2 separate regions of the Homo sapiens genome follow, and region 1 is linked to region 2. Evidence: promoter capture Hi-C in 16 types of primary human blood cells and fetal thymus (Javierre and others, 2016). All regions are on one chromosome and are shown on one strand. Each heading gives the region's core, a stretch centred on a gene start or on the middle of the fragment in contact. The rest is flanking DNA. Distances are from core to core; before and after follow the strand shown. Region 1 overlaps BBS9 (Bardet-Biedl syndrome 9). Region 2 holds the start of FLJ20712 (a long non-coding RNA gene).

Evidence for each region. Contacts are between HindIII fragments. The CHiCAGO score rates a contact against its expected background, and 5 or more counts as called.
Region 1: a fragment that was not itself captured here is called in contact with the fragment with the promoter of FLJ20712 in region 2 in 1 of 17 cell types (erythroblasts); the score reaches 5.3 in erythroblasts.

What each region holds. Positions count from the first base shown.
Region 1 is chr7:33,183,142-33,186,844 of GRCh38, reverse strand. The region is part of intron 5 of BBS9 (Bardet-Biedl syndrome 9); the gene reads right to left. Among named protein-coding and RNA genes, the nearest start is that of BBS9, 55 kb to the right of the region's middle. The HindIII fragment of the contact is 1,993 bases long and covers 1,193-3,185 here.
Region 2 is chr7:33,724,275-33,728,342 of GRCh38, reverse strand. It overlaps FLJ20712 (a long non-coding RNA gene), which reads right to left and starts at 2,362. Exons shown (of 2, transcript NR_165282.1): 1 at 2,234-2,362; 2 at 1-815. The HindIII fragment of the contact is 5,749 bases long and covers 1,144-4,068 here.

The sequences.
Region 1 (3,703 bases), core at 940-3,439, 540 kb after region 2:
TTGTCAAGAGCATAAAAAACAAAGATAAACTAATATTTTTTTAGAACCCAAAATCACATATTCCTTCAAAAAAGCAGCTTGGATTTAAATTTTAAAAAACAACGAACATTTTTAACTTCAAACACACTTCCCCTCTGCAAAAATAAATAAATAAAAGCCCAATACAACCAATTAATATTATAATTTTTGGAGGAATTTTAAATTTTTTTGGACTTTTCTTACAAACCAAAGCACCAACCAGAAAAATAAAACTGAAAAAGCAAACATACGACCCAGAAGTTAACATATTTCCCATAATCTATGAAGAATCAAAGATATGCACTTAACTTTAGCCAAACCAAACTACACTCCATTCTGATAGGAAAGTTTTTTCTGAATGGGGGAGGAGGTAAATTCACTCACAGCCCAATCAAGGAGGCAGTTTAGTGTGACTAATACCAGAAGCCTCTAGATGCAGACAGGCTGGGTAGAAATCCTCCCTCCACCACTCACAGTTACTTTTTCAACCTGTAAAAGCTCTTAGAACACTGCCTGATACAAAATAAGCATTTTGCAGACATAGGGCTATAGCACACCTCTAGATCACTGCAGCTTAGCATTACCTGGAATATTGTCAGAAATTCAGCATTTAAGGTCCAATTTCAGACTTACAAGAATCCGCATTTTAATCACGATCCCCTTATAATTCAAATGCAACTTAAAAGTTTTAAAAAAGTTAAAAGTTTGAGAAGCACAGCTAGAAAGCGCTTTTATATTATATTCTGTTATCTGTTATAATTAACTGTCTTTTAAAAACCCACCCTGTTGTGCAACTCAAAGAAGTTACATTTATTTTTAATAAAAGACAAAGCATTATTATGGGATCAACATTCCTCCATTAGTGATTTCTTGCCATACCTTATTCTAAAGCAGCAGCAACTAAGGCCAAAAGTTATAGAGGACTGCCATCTAGTGTTAGTTCATTTTGACGCACACACAAAATACTGCACACCTCTTCTCCCACTGCCTTTCCATAATTTAAATAACACATTTGCTTAAAACTGTGTTGGGCTTTAGTTTTGTTTAATTCCTTTATTGAGACATGACATGAATACCAAACAATAATTCCATAAGATGCCATATGAAATAGAGGAAAGTAGAAAACAAGGATTTTTAGGTTTCTTTTTTAAATAACATCAACTCCAGGGAAGCTTTCCAATTAAAAGAATCACCCACTCACTACTGGAAAGGTGCACACTAAATATACATTAAAGACATCAGGCTTAGAAAGTGGGCTTTCTTATGAAATGTACAAGTCTTGGAGTCTTACTTTCTTCTACCTAAGTTCTGAACTTTTTGCAATTTATACAGTATTTAAGGACTAAAGCTACTTTCATATTGGAAAAAAATATTTTACAAGTGTCTGACTTAATAACTCAACCTCTCCACTCTATCCTAAGGAAATAATCAGAAATGTAGATAAAGATTTATGTAAAAAGATGTTCATTCATAGCTTTGTCAGAAGCATCGGAACCAAAGCGACTCCACCGTGAATAGGGACTGGGTAAAATGAGGCTGAGACCTACTGGGCTGCATTCCCAGAAGGTTAGACATTCCAAGTCACAGGATAAGACAGGAGGTTGGCACAAGGTACAGTCACAAAGACCTTACTGATAAAACAGTATGTAGTAAAGAAGCCAGCCAAAACCCACCAAAACCAAGATGGCGACCAAAGTGACCTCTGGTTGTCCTCACTACTCATTATCACTAATTATAATGCATTAGCATGCTAAAAGACACTCCCACTAGTGCCATGTCAATTTACAAATGCCATGGCAACATCAGGGAATTACATTGTATGGTCTAAAGAGGGGAGGAAACCTCAGTTCTGGGGAAATTGCCCACCCTTTTCCTGGAAAACTCATAAATAATCCATCCCTTGTTTAGCATTTAATCAATAAATAATCATAAAATAGCCAATCAGCAGCCCTCAGGGCTGCTCTGCCAATGGAGTAGCCATTCTTTTATTCCTTTACTTTGTTAATAAACTTGCTGTCACTTTACTCTATGAACTTGCCCTGAATTCTTTCTTGTTTGAGATCCAAGAACCCTGTCTGGGGGTCTAGATCAGGACCCCTTTCCAGTAACATTCTCCTGGTGAACCATGAAAGAACGATACGAAGGAGACTCCTGACCCAAAGGAAACAGAATGCAGAACCCATTGGCCGACTATGGTTAAGTGGTGGATTAGAGGCCCAACTTAGAAGATTTAAAGTCTCTCCTAAGACAGAATGGGTTAAATGACCCTCTTAATAAAAAGTAAGGATTCTCGACAAATTTGGGTTCGAGACCCAACTTAGGAAGGTTAGAGTTCTTCTTAAGATTTAGGCGGTTAGAGGCCCCTCTCAGTAAAATCTCTTGGTTAAAAATGAATTTGGCATTATGGGATGTTAACCACTATTTTCTTTGGATTAATCTGCCTTGCGCTCTTTGCTGATGGCTGTGGGGGGATTAGGCATGTACAGGATCACCGGACATGGGGAGCTTCTTTTCTCCCCAAAAGGGGAAACTTGAAAGCTGATGGGACTGCTGGAAAAGATCCCTTAGCAAATTACAAGCAACCACCTGAACTTTGTTTAGTGTCACTGCAATGGTGGGTCTTTCTCTAGCTTCCCCTAAGCTCCTCGTCTTCCCACCCCACTGCAGGCAATGCTTTTCTCCCTTCCCTTGCCTTTCTTCTCTCACTCTCTCTCTCTCTCTCTCTCTCTGTGTGCAAACTGCTTATAGGTGTGGTAAAAATCACTACCTCTTGCAATATTTTAATTAATGAGAAAAAGGATTTGTGAGGCTGGTCTTAAGCTATAGCAACTCTGGGGAACTTTCTGCTATAAATGTTTTTTACTATATTCTGTCATAAAGAGGAGTACCTTAAGATTGAACATGGGCTTAGGACACATGGGCTTAGAACAAGCCTGCTGTTCAAGCTAGCCCAGCAAACTAGTCAGCTACAAACTTTGCTGCAGGTTCCTGAAGCAAACAAACAAAAAAAAACTGAATGAGGTTCCCCGCTTGTCTTGTTTTATGTCCTTGGGAGCTTGACCTTTTAAGTACGTGGCAGTACTTTCTCTTGTTCTCAGCCATCTGGAGGACAGGAATTTTGGAGTTTATGTCAGAGCTCTAAAAATTATCTCAAGCAGTTAAAAGCTTTTGCAAGCTCAAAATTGACTGCTCTAGGCTCTTTCTGGGAAGGGCAATGGAAACTGTCCAGTGCTGTAGCTTAGTAACTAAGGCTTATTGGTTTCACCTGTGAGGTTACTTTTGGTAACATTTAAAAGCCAGAAATATTGTCTGTTTGGCCTGGTTAAAGTAGGGTAATAAGAGGTTTATAAGGAATTTTTTTTAAGGAGCACTATGGTTAAAAGTCAGCTTACTTAAAAGCAGATATCCAAGTTATACGTACATTTTAAAGGCCTTTATGTTTTTTTTTCCTCTTCGTGGATTGTGTTTTTCTGGAAAAGGGGTTTTTTCTTCTCAGTCAACTGAATTTTCTCCATTTTGTCTTCTTGACATTCTTGATGCACACGAGAGGACCTAAGATAATATTTAACAGCTTGGGACACCTTGGGAAAAACAGAGGAGGTGCTGCAGACTCCATTTTGGGGGGAAAAAAAGACATCTGTTTCCCTCGTGGAACCCTAAGAATTGAAAATAGATCCCTCTCACA
Region 2 (4,068 bases), core at 1,113-3,612:
ATGTTTGGGGCCTTACAACCTTCAAGAAGCTATTATCACCTCATTTTAGACAGGAGACCGAAACTCAGAGATGTTCATTAATTTGCCGTGGCCACACAGCATTGATTGGAAAAGGCAAGGACGAACTGACAACTAAGTTCATGCCCTTTCCAGGGTATCATGTCACCTTTCAAAATTGAGGACCCTAGAATCTTCCAGTTGATCACTCTCTCCATGTGCCCCAGCCTCTTTCTGCCTGCAAACGCAGATCTAACTGGATCCCAGAGACGATCACTACCTCCCTTATTCTTCACCATCTCTATGGAAGGAACCCCTACCTCCTCCCTGGGGCAAGGTGCATGGGAAACTGAGTCTGCACCACCCATGGGGCAAGGCTGCCATGCTTGGACAGAGAGGCCAGGCATTCCAGACAACTCCCCCTGCCCCACCCCCACAAGGAGAGCCTGAGGGGTAGGGTGAGGAGGTGCTGGGGAGTTTCCAGTTTCAGGAGCTGTTTGCCCTAAGATGGAGAAAGACAGGTCACAGCGGTGCTCCAGTGCAGATTTGAACAATTTGTTGCAGCCACAGGAAACTTCCGAAATGTCTTTCCCAGCAGCTCTGCCTCCGCCAGGAGCAGGAGCATGTTTGTGTGGCTGCAGGGCACCGGGAGCAGCGCTCTGTGCTCTCCCGGCTCCCTGTGGCAACAGGAGCAAGAACTTCGGGGGGTCAGGCATAGAAACCACAGCAATGAGATCTGACTTCAAAAACACAGAGCCGCGATGTCCACTTCCAGAACACACAACATCTGGATGGATCACCAACAAGATTCCTGCGACCTGAGGTGGAGGCAGGGCAGGAGGCGTGCCTCGGGCCTTGTGGCTTGTGGGGAAAACCTGTCTCCCTCGCAGCCCCCCACCCCCCTCCTTCACTCACGCCTGCATTGTTGTGGGGCTCCCAAGTGAGTGTTCTCTAAGCACTCTAGTGGCCTCATTCCCAAACACTCCTCCCATCACTTTATCCCCAGCTCTAAAAATTGTTCTTGCTTCCTCTTAGCCTAGAGCAGTGCTTGAAGGAGGATAGAAATTTCCTGGGGGTCTTGTTAAAATGCAGGTTGTGATTCAGCAGGCCTGGGGTGAGCCCGGGCTTCTGCGTGTCTAACAAGCTTTCAAGTCCAAGGATGCTGTTGGTCCCAGGACCACACTTTGAATGGCAAAGGCCAGTACGTATGTCCCAGATTCCTAAGTCTGGTGTTCAAAACTCTGGGCCCCTCCCCCTAGACTACCTTTCTTACCTCCTTGATCTCTTCCCCACCCCTGCGATGCTCCGGGCAGAGTCACCTGCCAGCCCACAGGCACACCCACACCCCAGCTTGCCCACCGCGGGGGTTCTGTGCCCACCATTTCCCTCAGCAGGAAAGCTAGCACCCAGCTCTGCCGTTCAAATCTTACCTCCTTCAAGTCCTAGCCTTCCCATAAAGACCATTGTCTTCCTTACAGGAAGAGCTGCATTCCAGAGCCATGGCATACAAAGGGAACAATCTCTGCTTTCTCAGGAAGTGTCAAACCCAGACACTGTTTGGGAGAGACAGATCTGGGCCGCCTCCCTAGAGTGGTGGAGCAACCCCTGAAAGCTGCCTTGGCTGGGACCATGGCTCTCCGATGGGAAGGCCTGCTGCATGATGGCCCTTTCGGAAGGGCATTCACTAGAGTCTGGTATGCTTAACAATTTGGAAACCAGGGTCCGTCATGCAGTGAATACATGTGTCTGAGAAAATCTGGCTGATACAGATAGAATTTCATTTTCATGCTTCACCTTGGTAAGGCCAAATACCAGCTAATGAAAAGTGGATTATGAATTCTTTTTCTTTTTGAGATACAGTGTCACTATGTCGCCCAGGCTGGAGGTGCAGTGGTTCGATCTCATCTCACTGCAACCTCCACCTCCCGGGTTCAAGCGATTCTCATGCCTCAGCCTCCTGACCTAGCTGGGATTATTGGTGTGCATCACCACGCCAGGCTAATTTTTGTATTTTCAGTAGAGACGGGGTTTCGCCATGTTAGCCAGACTGGTCTTGAACACCTGGCCTCAAGTGATCTGCCCACCTCGGTCTCCCAAAGTGTGGGGATTACAGGTGTGAGCCATCGCACCTGGCCTGTACTTTCTATAAAAATATTTTATACCATCTGATATTTAACTGGAAAATGACTGCAGAACTCTTAGCCATCCTTTGTTTTAAATATTCAAAAGCACTTACCTGACACAGGCCCCTAAGAAAGGCTATCTGGGGCACTCTTTTAGTTTTTCTGTTTTATTCCTGATGGTGAAATTCCAGCCAAGATTTTCTGGTTGTGGAACCTCTTCTGATTCTGCCGTTTCACTGACTGGAAATGATTGCTAATTGGAATGAAAATTTTCATCTTATCTGCCCCTCTGTTATTTTGCAGAGGAGGGTGTGGTGTTATCAGTTTGCAGTGGGGTTTAGGGGTGGTGTCAGCCTTGCAGAAGGTTTGGTGGGTTTTCATTTCCCTGGCTTTGCTATCTGCTGTTTTGAGGGAAATGGGTAACCGGATCTTAGAATCCCTGGATGTGAAGAGATAACATTGACTATAGGCAATTCTATTTACTGATAAAAATAATATAGTTTTCAAACAGTCCCACAATGAGTCACTTCTAAATAGTCAGAAATACATTTCCTGCTATTATTCTTTGAGACTGAATTGATAATTTTATAAAATTACTCCCCTCACTAAGGTAGTCCTATTGAATGCATGCCGAATTTGCAACATGGTCTTAAATCTGCAGTACCCTGGTCTTTTGGGACCCACCAGATATGAATCAAAGTCCCGAGCATATTCTCTCATAAGAAATGTACTCTACTTGCTTCTTGCTGTTCACGTTACCAAGAAAAAGAAATGTATTCTACATCTAGCTCCCCTTCCTGAAAATAACAAAGAATAGCATCAGAGCAAGAGTCAGACAAAATCTACTGGCAAGAGTCCAGAATGTCAGGGCACTAGCTCTTCAGCCATCCCCCTCTTTGGCAAAAGGCAAACATCACAAATCACTGATAAGCCAAAGCCTCATCTAAGCACCGAGTGTGGCTGTGGGCTCTTGAAGCAAAAGTCAAGAGACCTGGATGCTATGTCCTGCTGCTTTGCCCCTCAACAGCTTGGTTACTTTGGGCAAGTCTTTTAATCAATGTGAGCCTCAGCTTCCTTATCTGGAAAATGGGGTTAACGACTGCCCCACTTACCTTGCAGGATGGCTGTGACAGTCAAGCCAGATTGTTCCTGGGCAAGCACCTTCTAAATTTACACAAAGAGGTGAGTGCCATGTGATTGGCAGGGAGTATCCGCTGCCGGTTCTGGGGCTCAACAAAGCAGTTCTGTCTTCTGCTGTGCTCCCAGCCTTCCCTCCCAACCTGGGTTACCTTTTAAAGATAGAAGAATTGGCTGGGAGCAGTGGCTCACGCCTGTAATCCCAGCACTTTGGGAGGCTGAGGCAGGCAGATCACGAGGTCCACAGATCGAGACCATCCTGGCCAACCTGGTGAAACCCCGTCTCTACTAAAAATACAAAAATTAGCTGGGCGTGGTGGCACACACCTGTAGTCCCAGCTATTCGGGAGGCTGAGGCAGGAGAATCTCTTGAACCCAGGAGACAGAGGTTGCAGTGAGCCAAGATCGCTCCACTGCACTCCAGGCTGGTGACAGAACAAGATTCTGTCTCCAAAAAAAGACAGAAGAATTATGGGGGATAGGGGTCGAAGTGGAAGAAGGAAAGCAACAGATATTTTAGAGGGATCAGAGCCCTGTCCATTTCACATGTGATTCTTTGAATCTGTCTCCTGCATGTCCTCACTGAGTCCCCAAACAAATTCCCCAATCCCATCTTGTCACCCAGCTCAGTAACAGAATTAGTTAATCCCAGTTAACCTAGATAACTTATCTTTTCCCCATTCCTAAAGAACAGAGGCCATCATTGTGTCTCCACAGGCTCTCTCAAGGGAGATTACCCTTCATCTTCTCCAAAAGGTGGAGAAGGAGACAGTCCTGATAGAAAAGGGAACCTTCAAAGGATTCTAGTGTC